Regions from separate parts of the Homo sapiens genome. Here all the other regions are linked to region 5. Evidence: promoter capture Hi-C in 16 types of primary human blood cells and fetal thymus (Javierre and others, 2016). All regions are on one chromosome and are shown on one strand. The core of a region is centred on a gene start or on the middle of the fragment in contact, and the rest is flanking DNA. Distances in the headings are between cores, read along the strand shown. Region 1 overlaps PIK3R6 (phosphoinositide-3-kinase regulatory subunit 6). Region 2 holds the start of LOC124903919 (a long non-coding RNA gene). Region 3 overlaps CCDC42 (coiled-coil domain containing 42). Region 4 overlaps LOC105371525 (a long non-coding RNA gene). Region 5 holds the start of RNF222 (ring finger protein 222). Region 6 holds the start of LOC105371525 (a long non-coding RNA gene).

Region 1 (4,473 bases), core at 1,615-4,114, 450 kb before region 5:
AATCCTAGGCAACACCATTCTAGACATCAATCTTTTGAAAGAATTTATGACTAAGTCCTCAAAAGCAATTGCAACAAAAACAAAAATCGACAATTGAGACCTAATTACACTAAAAAGCTTCTTTTTGTTTTGTTTTGATTTTTTGAGACATAGTCTCGCTCTGTTGCCCAGGCTGGAGTGCAGTGGCGTAATCTCAGCTCACTGCAATCTCCACCCCCCAGGTTTAAGCGATTCTCGTGCCTCAGCTTCCTGTGTAGCTGGGATCATCATTACGCCTAGCTAATTTTTGTATTTTTAGTAGAGACAGGATTTTGCCGTGTTAGCCAGGCTAGTCTCGAACTCCTGGCCTCAAGTGATCTGCCCCCCTCTGCCTCCCAAAGTGCTGGGATTACAGGCATGAGCCACCGTGCCTGGCCTACACTAAAGAGCTTTTGCACAGCAAAATAAATTATCAACAGAGTAAACAGACAACCTACAGAATGGGAGAAAATATTCACAAAGTATGCATTCCAACAGAGGTCTAATATCCAGAATATATAAGGAATTTACACAACTGATTAAGCAAAAAACAAATAACCCCACTTAAAAAATGGGTAAAAGACATGAACAGACACTTCTCAAAAGAAGACATACAAGCAGCCAACAAATATGGAAAAATGCTCTACGTTACTAATTATCAGAGACATGCAAATCAAAACCATCTCACACCAGTCAGAATGGCTACTAGTAAAAAGTCAAAAAACAACAGATGCTGGCAAGGCTGTGGAGTAAAGGGAATGCTTATACACTGTTGGTGAGAATGTAAACTAGTTCAGCCACTGTGGAAAGCAGTTTGGAGATTTCACAAAGAACTTAAAACAGAGCTACCATTCGACCCAGCAATCCCACTACTGGGTATATATCCCCCCAAAAACAAATCATTCTATCAAAAAGACCCATGCACTTGCACGTTCATTGCAGCACTATTCACAAAAGCAAAAATGTGGCATCTACTTAGGTGCCTGTCAACAACAGACTGGATAAAGAAAATGTGTTACATATACAACATGGAATACTATGCAGCCATAAAAAAGAACGAAATCATATCCTTCGTTGCAATATGGATGGAGCTGGAAGCTATTACACTAAGCAAATTAATGTAGGAACAGAAAGCCAAATACTGCATGTTCTCACTTATAGGTGGGAGCTAAACTTTGGGTACTCATGGACACAAAGATGGCAACAATAGAAACTGGGGGCTACTAGAATGGGGAGGGAGGGAAAGGGGCAAGAGTTGAAAAACTAGTTAGTGTGGGTACTAGTACTACTCATATGAGTAGTACTATTATTAGTAACAGTACTCATAGTACCTAGGTGATGTGATCATCCATACTACAAACCTCAGCATCAAGCAATATATCCGGGTAACAAACCTGCACATGTACCTCCTGAACCTAAAATAAAAGTTAAAAAAATTTTAAATAAAAAAAGTTTAATATTAATAATAATATTAATACCTAATTAGTAATATCCCACATTCCTGGATGCAGAGGAGGATAATAATAATGGATGCCATTTATCTATTGACTATTCGAGTCATCAAGGATGTTAGACCTGCATACCATATGTGAACAATGCTGAGCCACTTGAGTCACAGGAAATATCCCATTTCTTTCTTCCATTTAATCAAATCAAAACCAGCTTCAACCTCTCATATTCCAAGGTTAGGATGAACTCTAGCATCATTCACTTGGAGTGCTTCCCCCTACGTGGGAGTTTGTGAGAAGCTCAGGGTTTATAAAGTCTGGGTAGTGGGAAAAGTCTGTCGTCTCCAGTCCACGGTGGCTACAGCCACCAGAACTGCTTGGCCAGACTTGCAAGGTGCAGAGGGAGATAGAGCCTGCCTTGAGGGACATTCTCGTGCTCTGGTGAAGATGGCTCAGGAGACCTTTGCTGTGGCATCAGAGGCACAGGGCTCAGTGCTTAGCGGCCTTCATCTGACCTTTGCCGCCACTGGTAAGCTTTGTCCCAGCCGGTCTGATTTTCCTCATTCCCTGGAACCCTATATCCCTTGTGCGTTCACAGTCTTAGGGAATCCAACCTCCACCCTTGGGCTGGGCCACTCTCCTCTTTAAAAGCATCAACCTTCTTCTGCACCTTTTTAGACAATCCAGCTTGATTGGCTCAATCAACTTGCCAGGAGCCTCAGACTCAGTGCCTCCAGGGGCCAGGCAGAGGATATAAATGAGTGAAACCGAGGCATGGGGAACTACAAAGACCTAGAGAAGCTGTGCCTATCTAAGGGGGCAATTGCTCCCCACCCCCTATGATTGTCACATGTGAGAAGAATCCAGGTTCGGTGTCAGCAGATTGTCAGATTTTCGAGAGATGCCAGAAACCCAAACGTTATGCAAAATCTCCTGACTTGTAAATGTTGGCAGCTAATTCATTGCTTTTTTTTTTTAAGACACTATACAAGCCCAAACAAAACACATAGCAAGCCAGATGTGGACCAAAGCCTGAGAGTTTGTTTTAGCTACCCAGACATTCAAAAACAAAATTTATTTGAAGTGGTCTCCCAGGGCTACTGGCAACTTCTCTATTTTTCTGTGAAACATAAAAATTCAACTTCCCTTGCAAAGCAAGGGGACCCAAGCTCAGAAGACAAAGGCTTGGCTGTGCTTCTGATGAGGGGAATGAGAGGAAATCACATTTGTCACAGTTTTCAGCCTTTCTTTGCAAATATACAATGGAAGACAGAATAAGAAAGAGGAAGAAGGAAGGAAAAAAGAAAGGAAGGAAGGGAGGGAGAGAGAGAAGGAGGGAGGAGAGAGAAAAAAGACTTAGCACCAGCTAATTTTCTAATAACTCATCCTGCATTAACTCATTAAATCTTCATGCAAGGTGGAAATGCATAGACGGAGGAAAGACTGTGACCAACCTTCATGCTGAGCTAAATGATTTCCTCAACAGTCTGGGGAGATGATGCTCTGCCCAGCAGAGGGACCAGGTGGGCAGATGTGGCTGTAGTATCCTGTCCACTCTCAGCCTGGAGGAGATTCAGGACCAGGCCTTGCCAAGTGGGGGCTTCAGGGATGTGGACCCCGTAGGCTTTGCATGGGTCTGAGGAGGGGCCAGACCATGAGCACTAGCACCTATGGTGACTTGGCCTAAAAATATTTTAACTCTTGGACTGCAATCTGCTGATTTTTAAATTTGTTATCTCTATTCTACTTACTTCCAAAGGAATCTGAAGCAATTCAGATATAGATTAAATAGAATATAAAGCAGGAGGACCAAAAAGGAGCCAAGAAGAGAGATCCCTGTCACATGAGATGAGCTAATTTTTGAGGCTGGGCCCCAATTTGACCGTAAGTTTCCTGATAGCCCAGTCAAAGAGGAACCCTTGGGGCATGTGGTTTGTGTTGTCTGACAACTGGAGAATACACACTCACCTATAATGGCAAACTCTTGGTGGGAGCTAATTGCAAAGAGGAATTTATTGTGTGAGGAGTGTTTCCCGTACTTCTTGTCTGAGTCTGGATCTGCCAAGAAGCAGACACCAAGTTCAAGGATTTATTTGGGGAAACACTTGTGTGACAGAAATGGAGAGGGACCTGGGAGAGCAGCTGTCAGACCCTGGTGCAAATCTGACTCCAAATGAAGGAGAAAAGGAAGAAGGGTCAGTGGAAATGCCTTGGACTGATGGGAGTCCAAGAAAAGCTCAGCAGGGCAGTTGGAGAAGCTTGAGCGTCTCCTGGGGAAGGTCCTGCTTTAGAACCACTACCATACCGTGTATTTTGGCTGGGAGGCGTGGCTCAGCAGAAAGTGATGGATTTCACAGCTGTCTTAGTCTGTTTGCATTGCTATAATATAAAGGAATACCTGCAGCTGGGTAATTTATAAAGAAAAGAGGTTTATTTGGCTCAGCGTTCTGCAGGCTGTACAAGAAGCAGGGTGCCAGCATCTGCTTCTGATAAGGGGCTCAGGGCTCAGGAAACTTCCACTCCTGGTGGAAGGGGAGCCAGTGTGTACAGATCACATGCTGAGAGATGAAGCAAGAGAGAGGGGGAAGGTGCCGGGCTCTTTTTAACAACCAGTTCTCAGGGGAACAAATAGAATGAGAACTCACTCATTACCGCAAGGATGGCATTCATGAAGCATCCACCACCATGACCCTAACACCTCCCATTAGGCCCCACGTCCAACACTGGGGAACAAATTTCAATATGAGATTTGGAGGGTCAAATATCCAAACCACTGCAACAGCACAGCAACTGGGGACCTGGTTCCATTAAACTCCCGGTAGTGGGAGAGGAGCGAGGTACATTCTCACAGCTACCACACTTCCCAAATGTCAGTTGCTTATTCTTGTACCACTTTCATGGTTTTTTTTTTTTCCCATGTCAACGTACCACTGTTAAAGAAAGAAATTATTCTGGAACTTATTAAATGGTAAGGAAGACTTATCCAAGACTATTGCATTAGGAAAGA
Region 2 (3,960 bases), core at 492-2,991, 480 kb before region 5:
CTGGGCCTTCCTTCCAGATTAGCACATCGCAGATCAAAGTGGACAAGGTGCAGATCATCGGCTCCAACAGCTGCCCCTTTGCTGTGTGCCTGGACCAGGATGAGAGAAAGATCCTGCAGAGTGTAGTCAGGTAGGAAAGGGGGGTCCTAGGGAGGGGAGCAGTTTCTGCTCCCACCAACCCAGAGGCCTGGAAGGAGCTGGAAGGATGGGGGCCTGCTCTGATCCCTGGCCCCTGCCCTGCTGCACAGATGTGAGGTCTCACCGTGCTACAAGCCAGAGAAGAGCGACCTCTCCTCACCACCCCAGACGCCTCCTGACCTGCCGGCCCAGGCCGCACCTGATCTCTGCTCCCTTCTCTGCCTGCCCATCATGACTTTCAGTGGAGCTCTGCCCTAGTGTGGGCCCAGCGCCAGACTGGACAGAAGCCCTGGGGCAACCTCCTCGGCCACCCCTCCAGGACAGTCCCTCTCTGTGGAGAACTGAATGGCCCTGTGCAGAGCCATAGTCCCACTGTGGGTCCTGCAATGAGCAGGGGCTGGGAGTAGAGGGTTTCTGGGGCCTCAGGGTTCTGGGAAAGCAACAGCTATCAGAGAGAGAAGGGCCAGACCCCATAGCCTCTTAGATTCCTGGCAGTAGAAGGAGAAGGATGGGTAAATTGACCTCTGAAGTCCCTGACCATTAGCATGGTCTAGGATCCTTTCTAGAAGGAAGATCTGAGGCTCTGGTGCTCAGGGGGATGGCTTGGGCCTTTTCTCTCAACCTTGGCTGAGCCTACCCCTTACTTTGCCAAAGACTTGAGGACCCTGTATGTCTGGAGTTCAGTCCCCTCCTCTGTGGGGCTCAGGTGATTGAAATGTGGATGAAACATTTCTCTACTTCAAGACCACCTCTCCCTGCAAACACCACACACACATGGCATGCATGTACGCACATGCGCACACACACACGCACACACCTCAATAATTTCTCTCAAGTTTCCTGAGTCTCCAGAAAAACAGCACTAACGCTGGACCTGTCTACTCTCAGAACCCGGCACAGATTCTCTCTTGATCTCCTTTTGGAATCTGAGATTCTTAGAAGACAGGATAGGGTTAAATTTAGTAGCAGCTCAGTTCTAGCTAAATCACTAGAGGAAGTTAATTAACTTTAAGCCTTCATTTCTCCAGCACTAAAATGGAGTGGAGAGTTGGGGTGGAAATAAGACATCCTTAAAAGGTTAAATTGTCTGCAAAGCACCTAGCCCAGTGCCGAGCTCCCAGTAGGTGTTCAGTAAAGCTTAGTGCCTGACTTTCTGAACACTGATTCCTCCTGTTTGGAGTCACTGGGATACTCTCATTGCCGTTGGGATGTTCCTCACTCCTTCCCAGTTCGTGGCTGAGGCAGAACCCAGACTGAAGAGGGAAGAGACATTCCAGAGGAGGATTGCCTTCGTCAGGGTAAGGGGTGGGCTGCTCAGGGGCCCTACCCTTCACCCCCTTCTGTATCAGATTGGCCCTCCCACTCCCATCTCACTCTGCGTGTACAATCTTCCATATCCGCAAGTTCACTGGCACTCTTCTGGCACCTGGGCAAGATCCCAGAACAGAGGATGGAGTGACTGGCCTCACAGAGCTTAGTGCCCGACTCAGGGGAAATGGGACTGGTGCATGGGAAATGGTCAGCCTAGGATAGGACACGAGAGTCTGAAATTCAAAGCAACCAGCTTGAAGTGGTTTGAGAAGCTGGAAGCAAACATGGGCTAGAGAGATAGGGCAGAAGTCAAGACGAGGATCTGGACTGATGTGGAGAAAGTAGCCACGGAAGCATGAACTGTATCCTGCACAAAGTCCCTCTTCCCCGCCTCCTAATTCATTATGCCCAAAAGGCCTTACGTGAAATTCCAGCCCAGAGTACTCATGACTTGAGAGACGTGGACAGAGCCAGCTTCTACCTTGCCTGGCCGTCTCTCCCCTGTCTTAATGTCTGCTCTTGCTCTAAGCTCCAGAAGAGTGGCGGGCCATGTATCTTCAATATGTTTTTGCTGTATGGGCAGGTTGTCTTATTATGTGATCAACAGATGTCCAGGAACTAATGAGTGGAATTTAATATTATTGTCAAATAAAACTTGATTTGTCCTATATTTAATGACCAGTAGTTACTTTGCTGCATGACCCTGCTAGTTGGACAGTTTATATAAATCATTTTATTTATACCAGAAAGAAGCTTCATAGGGGATTGTTTTATTTCTCTTTTTGTAATTTTCCACCCTATAGAAAATATATTTGGGTGAAAATTTTCCCCAATACTGTTCTGCTTAAGCCTCATCATACTCACTGACCCACAGAACAAAAATTCCTACACCTAAGGACTCAGCATTTGGGGTTTCCTGTGCTACTTCACTTGAGAAATATATACCCATATATCCATCTGTTTCCTGTACCCCAAGCTCCAGGGAGGGGACGGGCCTGAGGCCGTTGCTGCGGATGGGTGGCACAGTGGATCCTGGACCTACCATGCAGCTGAGAGGAGGGGAAGAGAGCTCAATAATGGCCCTTTGGATCTGGGACTGCCTTTAGACTTGGGTGATAAGGAAAGAGAGAAGAAGAAGTGGAGGGATGGTAGAGGACACCTGTGGCTTGGGAGAGGGAGGTAAGTACCAGGTTGCCAGAACACTATTCAGGATGGAGGGAGAAAGAACTGTGAGCTGTTCCAGCTCTGCATCAGCTGGCTATTGCAAACAATGAAGCATACCTTCAATTCAGGGAACTAAGTCTCCGATCATTTGTTCTTGCTCATGCATCTGGAGGACATCTAGGGACCACCTGATCTAGGCTGGGCTCAGAGTGGCTTGGCTCCAAGCTGCAGGATGGGTGCAGATCTGCTTCGTTGGTCTTTCAGACACATTGGACCAGCATGAGAGGCAAGCAGAGACACGCGATGCCTCCTAGGAATGGAACCTGGAACAAGAACAATATTCCTTCTGCCAATAATTGGCTAACACTGATGAAGCACATCAACCCACAGACTTAATAAACCCAGCAAATTTTGCACAGGAATTTTGACACAGGAATCTCCACACAAGAAAAAAACAAAATCACATGAGAAGTGCACTTTACCTTTGATGTTCTTTCCATAACTCCAGTCTAATCAAGAGTAAAAAAGATCATATAAACCCAGACTATGGGACCAGATAACCTGACCAGTACTCTCTTACTGTCACAAAAAATAAGGAAAGACTGAGAAACAAAAAGAGATGGAGTAAACCTGAAAAATAAGCAGTAGACACTGGCTTGTATCCTGAAACATTAATCCAAAAACTGGTAAAATCCCAATACAATCTGGAGTTCAGTTTTTTCTTAAACACACACACACACATACACACACACACACACACCCCTTACTGTCAAACTTCTAAAGAAAAAAAGGTAATAAGAAAATACTAAAGACAGAGGAAAATAATACACTTTATCTTCAAAGTAGCAACAATTAAACTGAGAACTCTCTCTTTCAATAGAAACAATGGAAGCCAGAGATGATGAAATGATATCTTTAAAGTATGAGGGGAAAAAACAAACCTACTAACCTGGAATCACACACCCAGAATTGTCTGATAATACTTTTTTAAAAAAAACTTATAAACTGCAGCGGTCGGGCGCAGTGGCTCACACCTGTAATCCCAGCACTTTGGGAGGCCGAGGCAGGCAGATTACGAGTTCAGGAGATCGAGACCATCCTGGGTAACACGGTGAAACCCCGTTTCTACTAAAAATACAAAAAATTAGCCGGGTGCGGTGGCGGGCACCTGTAGTCCCAGCTACTCAGGAGGCTGAGGCAGGAGAATGGCCTGAACCCGGGAGGCGGAGCTTGCAGTGAGCCGAGATCGCACCACTGCACTCCAGCCTGGGTGACAGAGCGAGACTCCATCTCAAAAACAAAACAAAACAAAACAAAAAACTTATAAACTGCTCACAAGGGACACAC
Region 3 (4,541 bases), core at 979-3,478, 330 kb before region 5:
CAATAGGGTCTCAGAGACTCCAGAAATCCTCGGGCCCCCTCCCCTCAGCCTCCCGGAGGTCCTCAGGCCCTTGCCCTTAGCTGTTGTAAAGAAAGATGCAGTGGGAGGGCCCAGCACAGTGGCTCACACCTGTAATCCCAGCACTTTTGGAGGCTGAGGCGGGTGGATCATGAGGTCAGGAGTTTGAGACCAGCCTGGCCAACATGGTGAAACCCCATCTCTACTAAAAATGCAAAAATTAGCCGGGCATGGTGGCAGGCACCTGTAATCCCAGCTACTCGGGAGGCTGAGGCGGGAGAATCGTTTGAACCTGGGAGGCGGAGGTTGTAGTGAGCCAAGATCGTGCCATTGCACTCCAGCCTGGGCAACAAGAGCAAGACTTCATCTCAAGATTCACTGGGAGATGCTGCCCTCCAGCAGCTCACTCCCACAGGCACATCTCCTGCTGAGACCATGGCTTCTAGTCCATCCACTCCAAATTTTGAGTTTCTGAATCCCTCTCAACTTGGATTCACCTCTACAGGAGAACTTCAGATTGCCCAAAAGTTATTAGAAAATATCTCACTTCATTCCCGTAGGAGATGAACCTACTCACGGAAATACACGACCGAGTCGCCTACAGATTTAAACTTAAGGACCTGGGAAAGTACAAGTTGAAATCAGAGGTCAAGGATGGAGAGAAATACAGACTGCCCTTGGTTCTTAAGGGTCTTAGACAGGGGCAGTAATTGTTTCTGAGCTTGCTGGTAACCTGAATGAAAAGCCACCTGTAGCTCTTATACTAGAATAAGAAAAAATAAGGTTTCCTCCGAGACAATGTGCCTTTTCCCAGCACTTAGTTCTCACTGAAATTTCTCGATGAGGCTTCATTGACACTGTATGAATAATGTTCTCAACAGCATCCCTGCAACCAATGCAGGCACTGGCTTTGTAAGGCAGCTGCTTATAGAGAACAAGGAACGTGGTACACAGGACAGCTTAGGAAAAGCGATTCTGCAGAAGGCCAAGTCAATTTGAATTCCTTCGAGTGTGTCATGGAAGGTTTGGCATTATCCCTGAAGAAAAGCCAAACTATCTGAACAAGCACTTTCCAGACTGAATCTCCTGAGCTATTGTTTCCTAGGGGGAATAAAAGGACTCCATAGACTAATACATTTAGAAACTCTAAATTAAACGAAGATGAGATTAAAAAAACAAACAGGACTTGGAGTCTTTGCTATAGTTCTATGCCCTGAGATGCTCCCAGCAGACAGCGTTTCTAAAACTGACTTGACCACAGGACTCCTTTGGGGCATGTGACCACTTATTATGAGAACATAGCTCAGGAAACGCTGACCTGTCTTCTCTGTCATCTTGGGAAAGCTGCTTTAATTCATTGACTCTCTGTTTTCTCATTTGCAAAATGGGAATGATATTGGTAATGGTAACAGTATCAGCAGCTGACAGTTGTTGAGAGCTTTGGACAAAGTCTGTGTAGTTCCATCTCCAGAGACAGCCTTGAAAAGGAGAAGTTTTAGAACTGAAATCCTTTTTTTATTTTTTTAATTTTAGGTTCAGGAGTACACGAGCAGGTTTTTTTTTTTTTTTTTTTTTTTTTGAGACGGAGTCTCACTCTGTCGCCCAGGCTGGAGTGCAGTGGTGTGATCTCGGCTCACTGCAAGCTCCGCCTCCCAGGTTCACGCCATTCTCCTGCCTCAGCCTCCCGAGTAGCTGGGACTACAGGCGCCCGCCACTACGCCTGGCTAATTTTTGTATTTTTAGTAGAGACGGGGTTTCACCGTGTTAGCCAGGGTGGTCTCGATCTCCTGACCTCGTGATCCGCCCGCCTCGGCCTCCCAAAGTGCTGGGATTACAGGCTTGAGCCACCGCGCCCGGCCTTAATTTTTTGTATTTTTAGTAGAGATGGGGTTTCACTGTGTTAGTCAGGATGGTCTCGATCTCCTGACCTCGTGATCCACCCGCCTTGGCCTCCCAAAGTGCTGGGATTACAGGCGTGAGCTACCGCGTCCAGCCAAGCAGGTTTGTTATATAGGTAAACTCATGTCACAAGGGTTCGTTGTACAGGTTATTTCATCACTCAGGTATTAAGCCGAGTATCCAATAGTCATTTTTTCTGATCCTCTCCCTCCTCCCACTCTCCACCCTCAAGCAGATCCCAGTATGTGTTGTTCCCCTCTTTGTGTCCACGTGTTCTCATCATTTAGCTCCCACTAATAAGTGAGAACACTCAGTATTTGGTTTTCTGTTCCTGCGTTAGTTTGCTAAGGATAGTGACCTCCACCTCCATCCATGTGCCTGCAAAGGACGTGATCTCATTCTTTTTTATGGCTACATAGTATTCCGTGGTGTATAAGTACCACATTTTCTTTATCCAGTCTACCATTGATGGGCATTTAGGTTGATTCTCTTTGCTATTGTGGATAGTGCTTCAGTAAACATCCCCATGCATGTGTGTTTATGATAGAACGATTTATATTCCTTTGGGTATATAACAAGTAATAGGACTGCTGGGTTGAATGGTAGTTCTATTTTAATTCTTTGAGGAATCACCATACTGCCTTCCACAATGGTTGAACTAATTTGCACTTCCACCAACGGTGTATGAACGTTCCCTTTTCTCCACAACCTCAGCAGCATCTGTAACTTTTTGACTTTTTAATAGTAGCCATTCTGGTGTGAGATGGTATCTCACTGTGGTTTTGGTTTGCATTAGAACTGATATCTTAGAGGCTGTCTGGGCCAATCTTTTCTCCCTCTCTCCTTATTAAAGATGAAGAACTGAGTTCCAGAAAGATGGAGTGATTGCCCCAGACCTGCGACGGGGGCCCAGCTAGGTCATCTGACTTCTGGAGCATGACTTCCGTGTCATGCTGACTGCGTGCTCTTTACAAAACAGAAGGCGGTGAACAGAATTTACATTCCTTTTCATGACTCAAGGTTATCATGATGAGCATCAGCTCTGGGTTTCGAATGCACGACCACCTTGAGGGCGGTGAAGTTGTGGAAGGCGGTCTGCCCATGCTGACGGAACCCTGCCTGCTAAATCCTTTTCATCCACCAGCCTGCTTGTGACCCTTTCTTTCTTATCCCTCCTGCTTGACTCTCAGCCTGGACTTCATACATCACCAGGGTCTGCCTTCAGGAGTTCCCAACTCCATCCCTGTTTTGTTGCTTCTCATCGGCTACACCCAACACTCAATTTCACCTCAAAACATTGTCAAATGAGAGAAAGTGGCCTCCTCAAGAAGTCAGTCATGGTTGGGTGCAGTGTCTCATGCCTGTAATCCCAGCCTTTTGGGAGGCTGAGGCGGGTGGATCACTTGAGGTCAGTAGTTCAAGACCAGCCTGGCCAACATGGTGAAACCCCATCTCTACTAAAAACACAAAAATTAGCTGGGCATGGTCACAAGTACCTGTAATCCCAGCCACTCAGGAGGCTGAGACACGAGAATTGCTTAAACCCAGGAAGCGGAGGTTGCAGTGAGCCTAGATCGTGCCACTGCACTCCACCCTGGGTGACAGAGCAAGACTCTTGTATCAAAAAAATAAATAAATAAAAATTTAAAAAGAAGTCAGTCACAGGAAAGCAATGATGAATTCTTTACAAGTGAATGTCTGGGATGCTCCATCTTGGGACAGGGGAGGCCTCTGGGGGGCGGAGTTAACGCTGGGCTCCTTGCCTTTCTAGATCCAGCAATTTATCCAAGACCGGTCGGACATCTGGGCAGAGGTGAAAAAGAAGGAACAACAGCGAGTCCGGATTTAAGGAGGCAGCCTTGTTCCAGAATGTCCTGAGACAGAGATCGTGAAAGAAGAAGTCGTGAGCCTGCGGTCCAGTCAGTCCAGCTCGGGACCGATGCCTGCTGTGCCTTCCTGCTGAGGGACACCTGCTTATTTTCCCCCGTGGGCCTCACTCTATCCCTGAAAACAGTGAATGTTATATGAAGTTTGTTCTCAAGTTCTCTCTAGCCCTTTGGTAGTTTATTCATGGGGAAGAGTGCAGTGACGGGGGACCCCCCCAACAAGCACTCACTCTCAAAGCTGGTCACCTAGGCTGCCTGGGAACTAGAAACCACATCTTAGGTCTGGTGTCCCCTCACCTTTGGGCTCACACACAGTCAGTGTTCAGGTGGGCAACAAACCAGTAGGGTCAGTACAGAGGACTCTTCTCTCATCCACCACTTCAAACTTTTATATTTTATTTTATATTTTATATTATATTATTTTATTTTATTTTATTTTTTTATATTTTATATTTTATATTTTATTTTATATTTTATAATTTTATATTTTATATTTTATTTTATTTTATTTTTATTTATTTTATTTTATTTTATTTTTGAGATGGAGTTGCCCAGGCTGAAGTGCAAGGCGCGATCTCGACTCACTGCAACCCCTGCCTCCTGGGTTTAAGCGATTCTCCTGCCTCAGCCTCCCGAGTAACTGGGATTACAGGCGCCCGCCACCATGCCGGGCTAATTTTGTATTTTTAGTAGAGACAAGGTTTCACCATGTTGGTCAGCCTGGTCTCGAACTCCTAA
Region 4 (4,218 bases), core at 1,247-3,746, 310 kb before region 5:
TGGCTTTATGCTCTCCCTTAAGGAAGACTTAATAATATTAATAAATGCCATCATATATCATGCTTACCATGTGACAGGCACAGTGCCAGACGCTTTTAAACTAATGTCTCATTTAATCTTCTTAATGATCTTACACGGCAATTATTACCATAAATCTCATTTCATAGATGATACAGAAGTTTAGCTGACTTTTAAAATTAATATTTATTGAAATTACAATTCAAAATCATAGCTCTTTAAGCTTCAGCTTTCTAATCTTATCCCGTTGATGTCCAACATATTTTACCTATCACTTTTAAAAGGATTTTGGATGTGTGGTTCCAATTATAAGGTTAAATTCCTTTTAAAGATTTAAAATTGCATTGAGACACTTACTGTGTTCTGTTTCCTTTTATGTACTTTAATGGCCTGACTTAACAACAAAACCTTTTCAAGTGTTTAAGTTTAGATTATTCATGCGATAAATTAAACTTGCAAATATGACAACCTTAGGGTTCTCTTAAATGTTCCAATACTATATATACGCTTAGGAAGTTTTCAGTTTAAAGTCATAAGTCTGAATCAATTAAATACTTACTAATTTTCAACTGGAATTTTGACATTTTTTTCTGTAAATAGGCTAAATTCTAGTAAGCATTATATATACATAAACATGCCTAGATTCTTTTACATGAAAACATTAATATCATGATTCCCTTAAACTTTCTATACTTAATTTTAAACCCTCCTGGGGTTAAAAGATTCTCACCAAGGAAAATGTAACATCATTTCCAGTTTTGGGAGTGCCTTCTCCACTCTCCTGAGATTACATAACAACTACTCTGCCTTATCTATCTTGCTGTGTCAATGACCCCATAATTCAAACAAAGTGCCACATAGACCAGGACACCTAGATTTAAGTTGTATGTTACACCCCTACCCAGGAAGCTCTACCACCTGATTTGATTTTGCTCATCTTTGGTTTTTCAAACTGGTAAAGTTGTTTATGTCTAACACTAAAGCTCTTTGAACCAGATGGAATTCAACATTCTTTCAAATTCTACTCTCTTTAGACTTCACAAGTCTTAGAGATAATAAAATGATTTCTGAAGAAATCATGGCTTAGGAATGAGCTGTTTTTCATCTACTGGAGGAACTTCAGACATTTGTCAGCCATAGGAACAGACTTGGGAGTCATTAGTTCCTTCCTAGGTTTGTGACACCCTGTACTTCCAGAGTTCAAGGTCAACCAACTCTTAGGACAGTAAATAGACTTTCTGCAGGAGTCCTGTTTGGATTCTCTCCTGCCTTAAAGTATAAAAGTCACACAGATGGGACCAGGAAGACAGAGAAGCCACCATCTAAAATTAGATATGCTCTGGAAGGCATGTCGGAGCGCCTGAGTCATTCATCACCTCTTTTGAATTACAAACCTGCGGTCGCGCACAGTGGCACACACCTGTAATCCCAGTACTTTGGGAGGCCAAGGCAGGCGGATCACCTGAAGTCAAGAGTTCGAGACCAGCCTGGTCAACATAGTGAAACCCCGTCTCTACTAAAAATACAAAAATTAGCCAGGCATGGTGGCGCACACCTGTGATCCCAGCTACTCAGGAGGCTGAGGCAGGAGAATCACTTGAACCCAGGAGGCAGAGGTTGTAGTGAGCCAAGATCACCTGGGTGACAGAGCCAGACTCCGTCTCAAAAAACAAACAACCAACCTGGTTATGCTGGTATGGGAGGTGACATTGTTTTTTGTTTTTTGACGGAGTCTGGCTCTGTCTCCAGGCTAGAGTGCAGTGACACGATCTCAGCTCACTGCAACCTCCGCCTCCCAGGTTCAAGAGATTCTCCTGCCTCAGCCTCCCGAGTAGCTGGGATTACAGGTGTGCGCCACCATGCCTGGCTAATTTTTATATTTTTAGTAAAGACAGAGTTTCACCATGTTGGCCAGGATGGTCTCGATCTCTTGACCTCATGATCCGCTGAGCTCGGCCTTCCAAAGTGCTGGGATTACAGGCATAAGCCACCGTGCCTGGCCTTGTTCCCATTTTTAATTAATTCATTCATTATTGTTTATATATTATGAATAATGTCATTGTCTTCAAGAAGCTCACCATCTACCAAGGAGACATACCAGCCAGGGTTCCAGGCTGAAGGTAGCCTACATTGTGGGAAGAGTTGATAAAGTGCAGTGGGAATCAGGAGAGGGAGGGGTGGTGGCAAGCTGATGGAATGTCATCAGAGAAGGCTTAAGGAAGGGGACGTTTGATATCCAATTGTGTTTGCCGAGTACCTATTGTATGCCAGGCACTGCTGCGAGAGGGACTTAGGGATGAACAAGAAACAAGAAAACATTAAGTTAATTTGAGGTCGTGAGGAGTTAGTGTTTATTGCGATCTTGCCATGTGCAGACACTATTCTAAGAGCTTTTCATAGATTGACTCACTTAATCCTCGCAGTCCTTCTGTGAGGCTGGAGACCATTATTATCCCCATTTTGTAGGCGAGGAGTCTGTTTCAATTATCCATTGCTACATAACAATCTACCCCAAAACTGAGTGGCTTAAAACAGCAATTTTATTTGTTCGCAATTTGGGGGTTCAGAAACTCAAGCAAGGGCTTAGTGGAAACAGTTCATCTCTACGCTGCGGTGTTAGCCCTGGTTGGAGCTGGAGGATCAAAATGGCCTTACTCAGTTGACTCGGGCTGTGGGGCTAGCTGTCAGCTGGGGCATGTCAGTTGTCCTTTCTGTGACCTCTCTCTCTAGCAGGATAGCTAGAACTTCTGTATATGGTGGCCAGCTTCCCAGAGTACAAAAACAGAAGCTGCAAATGACATAGCATCATGTCCACCACATTTGATGGGTTCATGAATGTCACAGAGCCAGCAAAGATTCAAACGGAAAGGAAACTGACATGGAGAAGTGGCAAACTCACCTTGCAAAGGGCACACAGGATGGAAACGATTGCTGTGGCAATCTTTGGAAACGATCTTCTTCAGATATGGAGTTTAAATAATTTGCTCAAGATCATACAGCTAATAATTAGGCTATGGGGATCAGTAGGGTAAAAGTTAGATGTGCAGAAATGTGGAGAAGGACATTTCAGATTAAAGGATGCATGTGAATGAGGGCCCATTGACGTGAAAACCTGGAGTGTGATTGTTCAGTTTGCTGTGTGAGAAGAAAAACTTTAGACAAATTGAATTTAACAGAGTTTAACTGAAGAAAAAACGTTTGAGAATTGGGCAGCCCCCGAACCAGAATGGGTTCAGAGCGATTCCCGAGACTGCCATATGGTTGGATAACATTTATGGACAGAAGAAGGAAAGTGACAAACAGAAAAGGAAAGTGAGGTATAGAAACAGCAGGGTTGGTTACAGCTCAGTGTCTGCCATCTTTATGGCTTGAACAGTGGGCCGCCTGTGATTGGTTGGAATTCTGTGACTGGTAGAAGAGTAGATTACAGACTTATTTACACATCCAGTTAGGTTACAATTCACTATGTATGGAGAAACCTTTAGGCCGCACTTAAAATATGTAAGAAGGCAGCTTTAGGCGACAGTTTATGTAACAGCTGGAAGAAGTAGGTGGACAAGAATGAACAAAAAGGATAGGCTGAGGCCAGATGGTGGATGACTTTGAAACCAGGCTAAGTGATTTGGAATTGGCTCTGCAGGCAATGGGAAGCTATGAAAAGGCTTCGAGCAGGAGAGTGACTTGATCAAAATCATGCTTTAGGAAGATTAGCCCTATGTATTGTGGACGAATGGAGGCAGCCCAATAAATGAGGAGACCTCCATAGGCACAATGAAGACCTGACCTAGGTAGCATTTGTGGAAATAGGGGCTGGATATAAATGCGGGAAACATCACATGGGTGAATTTGACACACGTGGTTTTTTTTTGTTTGTTTTGAGACAGAGCCTAGCTCTATCACCCAGCCTGGAGTACAGTGGCACGATCTCTACTCACTGCAAGCTCCGCCTCCCGTGTTCACACCATTCTCCTGCCTCAGCCTCCCAAGTAGCTGGGACTACAGGCGCCCGCCACCACGCCCAGCTGATTTTTTTTTTTTTTTTTTTTTTTTTTTTGTATTTTTAGCAGAGATGGGGTTTCACCGTGTTAGCCAGGATGGTCTTGATCTCCTGACCTCATGATCCGCCCACCTTAGCCTCTCAAAGTGCTGGGATTACAGGTGTGAGCCATCGTGCCCGGCCCACACATGGTATTTTATAGA
Region 5 (4,260 bases), core at 729-3,228:
TGCAATGCGCCCCTTGGAGATGCCAGTGGAAGGAGAGAAATTTGGAGAGCCCTCTGGGATTAGACTTGCTGGATGAAAATACAGAATGCCCACTTAAATTTGAGTCTCAGATAGAAAAGGAATACTCTTTAGTATAAATATGTCCCAGAGGGCCGCCACAGTGGCTCACGCCTGTAATCCCAGCACTTTGGGAGGCCAAGGTGGGCAGATCACCTAAAGTCAGGAGTTCAAAACCAGCCTTGCCAACATGGCGAAACCCCATCTCTACTAAAAATACAAAAAAATTACTGGGGTGTGGTGGTGCACACCTATAACCCCAGCTACTTGAGAGGCTGAGGCAGGAGAATCGCTTGAACCCAGGAAGTGGAGGTTGCAGTGAGCCGAGCTTGTGGCCACTGCACTCCAGCCTGGGTGACAGATCGAGACTCTGTCTCAGAAAAAAAAAAATCCCAGATATTGTACTGTATTGTACTGGACATATTTATACCAAAAAGCATTCGTTGTTTGTCTGAAATTCTAATTTACCTGGGCATACTGCATTTTCATTTGCTAATCTAGGACCACCTGGAACTCCCAGGGAAAGAACAAGAGAGACTGTGACGACGGCTTGCACTCACGGATCTCTGTCCATGGTGAAGTGGCCGAGTGCACTGGCCTGACTGTCCTCCCCACCAGCTTCAAGGTGTCCATTAAGCCAGGGCCATGACTGATCGGACAGAAGAGGGGTCATCCTGTGTCATCCTATGGGGTCACACACATGCTGGGCTGTGCCTTGGACCCAGTAACTTACTTTTTCAGAAGAAAACTGGTTTCTTGGGGACCTCCTGAGAGGACTGGGAGGGAATCCTCCAAAATGATTTCCAGTTCCCCGAACTTCATTCCTCCATTATTCTTGATGACTTTTTCTTTTTCTTTGAGACAGTCTCACTCTGTCATCCAGGCTGGAGTGCAGTGGTGCAATCTTGGCTCACTCACTGCAACCTCCACCTTCTGGATTCAAGCAATTCTTGTGCCTCAGCCTCCCGAGTAGCTGAGACTACAGGCTTGCACCACCTTGCCCAGCTAATTTTTGTATTTTTAGTAGCAACAGGGTTTCACCATGTTGGCAAGGCTGGTCTCGAACTCCTGGCCTCAAGCAGTCTGCCCGCCTCAACCTCCCAAAGTGCTGAGATTACAGGCATGAGCCACCATACCCAGTGGATGACTTTTTCTCTAATCACAAAAGAAACATACATTCAGGGTGAAAATGCAAACATCACAGAAATATAAAACTTAGAAAGTCTCTCCAGAGATAACTGCTATTAACAGTCTGATGTGTTTTCTTCCAGCTTTTCCTCTATGAATATGATCATGTATTATTATCTTCATAAATAGAATTGTATTACACAGGCTGTTCTGAAAGTTGCTTCCATTTATCATGATGCCGGGGACTTCTTTCCATATCTGTGTGCATTCCTGCTTCACTGGTCTTACTCGCCTCGTTCTTTATGCCAGTGGTGCTGGGTCTTTGGAGTTCTAAGCGCCTTTGGGTGTTCCATGAATGACAAATGCACACAGGCAGATCCCACAAATATATGACTCTGAGTGTCATAGACTTCCCGAGGCTGATCTACTACTGACCCCTTCACCCTGTGCATGGTGTGAGGATAGGGGTGTGGGGGGAAGATGGGGATCACAGAAATGGGTCCAGGAGGGTGGGAAGGACAGTGTGGGTGACTTTCCTATTGATAGGGAGACCCATGCCTGGGGAGCCTCAGTCAAAGGGGTCCTGGGTCACTGCCTCCACTGTGAGACCCTCTGACTCTCCTGAGCACCCACCCCTGGGCTCCTCCTCAAGCTGGGGGTTCCTCTCCTGGCATCCTCAGCAAGATCACCTGACTCCAGCAGCTGCCAACCCCCTGGGCAACGCCAAAGCCTCCTGGCCTCAAACGGGTTGGGCGACATTCACTTCCTCGCGCTGTCCTCCCGACCTGCTCTGTCATTAGGAATTGCCTCGGCGGTGGCGGTCACACTAACAGCAACAGGAGGAGATCGTGCTGCTGCTCAGCACCTCGGGGTGGCTCAGATCTGCTGGAGGCCCCAGGAGGGAAGGTGGATGCTGCTCTCTCCGGTCCCAGCTAAAGTGAGTCTAGGGGCCTGGATGGGCGTGGGGAAGGAGCTTGGCAATGTTGGAAGGTTGCCAACATTGGAAGGATGCAGGAGAATGAGAGAGAGAGAAATTGAGAGAGAGAGAGAAAGAGATACCTGTGGGTGAGCAACTAGTCACAGCTAAAGCTATAGGACCTTGCACTGGGGCTCCAGGAGGGAATCCCAGGTGCCTGGAAGTATCATTCTGTCCCACTGGCTCCTGTGCTGAGGTGGGGATGGGGGGTGTTTTCTCTGGGGTGGGGACACCTGCCCCCACACTCTGTTCCGGAGATGGGCTACTGCTGTGGGGGAGGCTCAGTACTGGGGCTTCCCAAGGTCAGCTCCCTTGGGCCAGCCATTGCCTTCCCCCTGCCTCCCAGGTGGCCAGAGGGGCATCCTTGTTTAGGGTCACTCTAAACCTAAAGAGGAAGGAACTTTGGGTAGTCACTTTTCTAACAGTGCTATTTCTTCTATTCCTTTGACCAAAGTCTGAAGACAAAGTCTTAAGCTCTGAGCCTCAGGTCCCTTATCTGTAAAATGAAGATAATCCCTACGCCCCAGCCTTGTTGTCAGGATCAGAAGAGGAAGGGATGCAAAATGCCAAGCATATAATTAGGATTCAATAAATGGTCGCTGTTGTAAATAATAATAATTATTTATTATTAGCTCAATACTGGTCCCACTTCACCTAGGAATACTTTCCAGCCCTCCTCTCCCCTCAGTTTCCTAAGGCACCAACAGGGATGCTTTGGCACTTACTGCATTCTTCTTCAACTCGTTTGTGCTCAAACTAGAGTATGTTCCTTGCATTTCTTCTGTTGCCCTCTCCCTCACCCCAGCATCCAAACAGAATCATACCATAAGAGGAACTCAAGGATGGGGAATGGAATGGGATTCAGAAAGCGAGAGAGGCAGAGGGAGGGGTCAGGGAAAGACTGAGAAAGGGAGGCAAGAAGGTGGGGAAGGAGGTAGCATCGTCCAGGTGTTGACGGCGTGGCTCTCCGGAAGCACGGGACGGGGGAAGGATTGCCCAGAGAGGCCATCGTTGGAAGCGGGAAGGACTGTCCAGAGAGGCCATCATTGGAAGGGGGAAGGATTGTCCGGAGAGGCCATCGTTGTAAGAGGGAAGGATTGCCCAGAGAGGCCATTGTTGGAAGGGAGAAGGATTGCCCAGAGAGGCCATCATTGGGGCCTCGGATGTCTTCTGCACTCCCTGGGTCCTTTTTACTTTTCCTCTAACTCGGATGAAAAGTAGAGGCTCTCCTTCTCCTTCCCTGCTCGTCTCAAGGAGGACGGTGCTTTCTAACTTGGCTAATACCTACTCACCCAATCTATCAGCTGATTCTAACAATGTTCTACCATCTACGGAATCTTCTCTGTCTCGGTTAACTCCCTCTCCGTCACCTTCACCGGTCACCTCAGGTGACTCACTTCCCTCTCTCTAGACATGGATCTGCTCATCTCTGAAACTAGGAGCTTCAACTAAGTGATCTCTAAAGTCCTTTTTCCCTCTAGTATTCCTTATTTGCTCTTCTTGTCAGCCTTGGTCTCTACTTCTCAGTTATCCAAACAACTTAAACCATTGATCATCAATACTCCTTTCAAAAAAATATCTTTTTCAAGAAAACTTATAAATGTCCACTAGGCTCTAAAGTTTTATAAGAACTTCCTTGGCCACTACTTATCCCCAATATGTAAGTCAGTACCTAGCACATAGCAGGTGCTCAATAAATATGTGTCGAATAATTAGACAGATGGATGGATGGATAGAAGGATGGAACTCTTGCCATCATACACTCTGGGGAGTTATGAAATGCAGGGAAACATATTAATAGTTGATTGGCTTAAGAAAATCATGCCCATCCTGATTATAATGGCTGTTTGGTATAAACATTTGCAAATGTGTTATGAAATAACTACCAAGAAAGATTGGAATAACCATTTAAATTATTATCCATTGCCCATCACTTATCTTATCCATTGTCATCTTGTTCCGTTATTCTAATTTGAGGTGAGCTGCCCTCTGTCAAGTGGGTGCGATTTTTTAATCATCCACATACTAAGGAACATTTGGGGATGAGAGGGAAGGAAAGGAAGGCAAATGCTGTGGCTGCCTCAAGAGCTGTGACAGGG
Region 6 (4,002 bases), core at 603-3,102, 270 kb before region 5:
AAATAGTCTTTGATTTAGGACTGCTCTGGGTCTTTTATTGAATGTGCACTGTGACTTGCCAGGGCAAGTGTGTGTGTGTGTGTGTGTGTGTGTGTGTGTGTAGGAAAATGTAATCAGACCTCCCCAGACTTGCTTGTTTGGTGATACCATTAATTAGTGAAACACTTCTCATTTTGTCCTCCTTTTAAAAATTCTGGTAAAATAATATGTAACACAAAGTTTACCATTCCGGGGGCATTAAGTATCTTCACGCTGTAACAATGTGCAATCATCACTATCATCCATCTGCACAGCTTTTTCATCTTTCCAAACTGAAACTCTGTATCCATTAAACAGTAACTCCCCATTCCCTGATCTCCTGGCTCCTAGCAAGCACCATTCTACTTTCTGTCTTTATGCATTTGACTACTCCAGCTACCTCATATAAGCAGAATTGTGTAATATTTGTGCTTTTATGTTGGACTTATTTCACTTAGCATAATGTTCTCAAGCTTCATCTGTGTTGCACCAAGTGTCAGAATATCCTTCCTATTAAGGCTGAATAATTGTAGGACCATATGTATATGCTACATTTTATCTATCCACTTATCCATTGATGGAGATTAGGGTTGTTTCTTCCTCTTGGCTATTGTGAATCATGATGTTGTGAACAGGGGAGCATACATATCTGTTCCAGTCCCCACTTCGATTCAGAAGTGAAATTGCTGGATGATAGAGCATCTCCTGGGCTAGTGTTTTGTGGAGCAAACTTTGGAAAGATTGCTCTCGGCCGGGCGCAGTGGCTCAAGTCTGTAATCCCAGCACTTTGGGAGGCCGAGGTGGGCGGATCATGAGGTCAGGAGATCGAGACCACGGTGAAATCCCGTCTCTACTAAAAATACAAAAAATTAGCCAGGCGCGGTGGCAGGCACCTGTAGTCCCAGCTACTGAGGAGGCTGAGGCAGGAGAATGGCGTGAACCCAGGAGGTGGAGCTTGCAGTGAGCCGAGATTGCACCACTGCACTCCAGCCTGGGCAACAGAGCAAGACTCCTTCTCAAAAAAATAAATAAATAAATAAATAAAGATTGCTCTGTATAAGTCTGGGGGCGGAGTACTATTAAGTGAGAACATTGCTGAATTTTCCAGGGATGTCCCTGCCCTGGATGATACAGTGGGAAAGCATGCTGGATTAGGAGTGAGGACTCGAATTCCTCCCTGAGCTCTGCGGGCCTTGGTTTCTGCAACGGTTAAATAACCATGACAAACTGGGTGATCTTTTGAAATCTAGGATTCTTTGGCCTATTGTGGTTCCCCTCCCACAGGCATCAGGGTGGTGGGTGAGGGTGAGGGCGGCGGGAGGGAGAAGTCTGGGAAGGAGACATTAGCTTGAGACGAGGATAACTTAATGTCTTCATCCTTTGACCTCGACGTTTTAATTGTTTAACCTACAGTTGACTCTTGAACAACACGGATTTGAACTGTGCAGGTCCACCATATACGTGGATTTTCTTCCACCTCTGAGATAGCAAGACCAACCCCTCCTCTTCCTCTTCCTCCTCAGCCTACTCAATGTGAAGGTGATGAGGATGAAGAACCTTATGATGATCTACTTCCACTTAAGGAGTAGCAAATATATTTTATCTTCCTTATGATTTTTTTCTCTTTTTTTTCTTTTTTTCTTTTTCTTTTTTGAGATAGAGTATAGCTCCTTTGCCCAGGCTGGAGTGCCGTGGTGTGATCTTGGTTCACCACAACCTCCGCCTCCTGGATTGAAGCGATTCTTCTGCCTTAGCCTCCGGAGTAGCTGGGACTACAGGCGTATGCCACTGTGCCTGGCCCCTTACGATTTTCTTAATAACATTTTATTTTCTGTGGCTTACTTTATTGGGTTTTTTGGGGGCTTTTTGGTTTTTGTTTTTTTGAGAGAGGGTCTGTTGCCCAGGCTGGAGTGCAGTGGCACTATCTTAGCTCACTGCAACCTCCTTCTCCTGGGTTCAAGCGATTTTCCTGCCTCAGCCCCCAAGTAGCTGAGATTACAGGCACACACCACCACACCCGGCTAATTTTTGTATTTTTAGATGGGTTTTCACCACGTTGGCCAGGCTGGTCTTGAACTCCTTACCTCAAGTGATCCACCCACCTTGGCCTCCCAAAGTGCTGGGATTATAGGCATGAGCCACCGCACCCGGCCTTTGGCTTACTAATATATATATATATATATATATATATATATATATATATATATATATATATATGGTTTTTTTTAATTTTTCCCCGAGACGGAGTCTCACTCTGTCACCCAGGCTGGAGTGCAGTGGTGCGATCTTGGCTCACTGCAACCTCTGCCTCCCAGGTTAAAGCAATTCTTCTGCCTCAGCCTCCCGAGTAGCTGGTACTACAGGTGCATATCATCACGCCCGGCTAATATTTTGTATTTTTAGTAGAGACAGGGTTTCACCATGTTGGCCAGGCTGATCTCAAACTCCTGACCTCGTGATCCACCTGCCTCGGCCTCCCAAAGTGGTGGGATTACAGGCGTGAGCCACCGTGCCCAGTCAGGTTACTTTATTGTAAGAATACAACATATAATACATATAACACACAAAATATGTGTTAATTGTTTATGTGATCAGCATGGCTTCCAGTCAGCAGAAGGCTATTAGTAAAGTTTGGGGGAGTAAAAAAAAAATTGTACGTGGATTTTCAGCTGCGTGGTTGTCGGCGCGAGTAAACCGCCCCCCCCCCGCCCCCGCCCCACGCCCGCCACTTTGTTGTTCAGAGGTCAGCTGTATTTTCTTTTATGAGGGAAAGCCATATTTTGCTCTTTCCTCACCTTTGTGCTTCGGGATCCAAACACTTCTTGGATAGTTCTCTCTCAGTTGTTCTTTCGCCTCTAGAGCTGGTATCATAGTTGTGAACTTCTCTTTTGACCTTCCCCTCCGCAATCAGTCTAACGGCTACTGGGAAAGAATGAGCTGCTGTGTCTCCTCTTCCACTTTTCTCTGCTTAGCCTGGCTTTCCTTTTCTTCCACTATTAGAAACACACACAAAAAAGAAAAGTCCCACGTGTTTGTCTCCAGACCATGAGGGTAAACCTCAGGAATGACGCTTTCCTCTAGGAGTTAAGTACTTTTCCTCTTCAAAAGTAAAGTCTTCCCTCTCCCGATAGGAATCTCTGGCTGCTGCTTGAATTTTAAATATAATAACCAGGTTTATACATTAAGCAAGCTTTGCCTGGTTCCCTCAGCAACAGCTCTAACTTGGATAGCTTGCCATAGCATGTTCTAAAGGAACTTGTGCATTTCATTATAATAACATCCCACTTATTCAGAAGGGAAGAAATCTTAACTTTTCAGAAAGACGGAAAGCTAAAATTAGGCCATGAACCAAAACAAAACCTTTTAAGCCCCTCGAATAACCTTCACAATGTCCTGCTCTAAAGACAAGAGCGGCCAGGTGCGGTGGCTCATGCCTGTAATCCCAGCACTTTGGGAGGCCGAGGCGGGTGGATCATGATGTCAGGAGTTCAAGACCAGCCTGGCCAAGATGGTGAAACCCCGTCTCTACTAAAAAAACTACAAAAATTAGCCAGGCGCGGTGGCGCACGCCTGTAATCCCAGCTACTTGGGAGGCTGAGGCAGAATAATTGCTTGAACCTGGGCAGCAGAGGTTGCAGTGAGCTGAGACTGCGCTACTGCACTCCAGCCAGGGGACAGAGAGAGACTCTGTCTCAAAAAAAAAACAAACAAACAAAAAAAAAAAAAAACACAAGAACTTTACTTGCAAGAAAGTCTTAAGGCCCTGTGATTCTGTTTACTCTTTTTTTTTTTAACACATCCTTCTCCACTGCGAATAAAAAATAGGGAGGGGCTGCTAGAAGTAGACACAGTTAGCACAGTGTCAACCCATATGGTAGCCTGAAGACAAAGGAGACAGAAAAACTCAAAAAAAGAGCAGGCATAGATCTGTGCTGTGACAGTTTTGACAGATTCCAATCAAAATGGATAAAATAAAGTGTTGGG

What was found. Contacts are between HindIII fragments. The CHiCAGO score rates a contact against its expected background, and 5 or more counts as called.
Region 1: a contact is called between a fragment that was not itself captured here and the fragment with the promoter of RNF222 in region 5, in 2 of 17 cell types (M1 macrophages and monocytes). The highest score is 6.0, in M1 macrophages.
Region 2: a fragment that was not itself captured here is called in contact with the fragment with the promoter of RNF222 in region 5 in 6 of 17 cell types (naive B cells, megakaryocytes, total CD8 T cells and 3 more); the score reaches 5.6 in naive B cells.
Region 3: a fragment that was not itself captured here is called in contact with the fragment with the promoter of RNF222 in region 5 in 16 of 17 cell types (M2 macrophages, naive CD4 T cells, M1 macrophages and 13 more); the score reaches 11.0 in M2 macrophages.
Region 4: a contact is called between a fragment that was not itself captured here and the fragment with the promoter of RNF222 in region 5, in 5 of 17 cell types (M2 macrophages, endothelial precursors, M1 macrophages and 2 more). The highest score is 7.2, in M2 macrophages.
Region 6: a contact is called between a fragment that was not itself captured here and the fragment with the promoter of RNF222 in region 5, in 2 of 17 cell types (M2 macrophages and M1 macrophages). The highest score is 5.7, in M2 macrophages.

Annotation. Positions count from the first base shown.
Region 1 is chr17:8,841,608-8,846,080 of GRCh38, reverse strand. All of the region lies in intron 2 of PIK3R6 (phosphoinositide-3-kinase regulatory subunit 6), which reads left to right. Among named protein-coding and RNA genes, the nearest start is that of PIK3R6, 24 kb to the left of the region's middle. The HindIII fragment of the contact is 1,724 bases long and covers 2,003-3,726 here.
Region 2 is chr17:8,877,075-8,881,034 of GRCh38, reverse strand. PIK3R5 (phosphoinositide-3-kinase regulatory subunit 5) reads left to right here. Exons shown (of 19, transcript NM_001142633.3): 18 at 18-130; 19 at 249-2,119. The coding sequence ends at 396. It overlaps LOC124903919 (a long non-coding RNA gene), which reads right to left and starts at 3,653. Exons shown (of 3, transcript XR_007065610.1): 1 at 2,731-3,653. The HindIII fragment of the contact is 927 bases long and covers 1,278-2,204 here.
Region 3 is chr17:8,729,355-8,733,895 of GRCh38, reverse strand. It overlaps CCDC42 (coiled-coil domain containing 42), which reads left to right. Exons shown (of 7, transcript NM_144681.3): 7 at 3,689-3,961. The coding sequence ends at 3,766. Among named protein-coding and RNA genes, the nearest start is that of CCDC42, 13 kb to the left of the region's middle. The HindIII fragment of the contact is 8,994 bases long and covers 1-4,541 here.
Region 4 is chr17:8,709,508-8,713,725 of GRCh38, reverse strand. The region is part of intron 2 of LOC105371525 (a long non-coding RNA gene); the gene reads right to left. Among named protein-coding and RNA genes, the nearest start is that of CCDC42, 33 kb to the left of the region's middle. The HindIII fragment of the contact is 4,505 bases long and covers 244-4,218 here.
Region 5 is chr17:8,395,545-8,399,804 of GRCh38, reverse strand. RNF222 (ring finger protein 222) reads left to right here and starts at 1,978. Exons shown (of 3, transcript NM_001146684.3): 1 at 1,978-2,110. The HindIII fragment of the contact is 4,699 bases long and covers 1-4,260 here.
Region 6 is chr17:8,669,740-8,673,741 of GRCh38, reverse strand. It overlaps LOC105371525 (a long non-coding RNA gene), which reads right to left and starts at 3,160. Exons shown (of 4, transcript XR_001752781.1): 1 at 2,814-3,160. RefSeq lists an enhancer at 1-1,739. The HindIII fragment of the contact is 2,717 bases long and covers 494-3,210 here.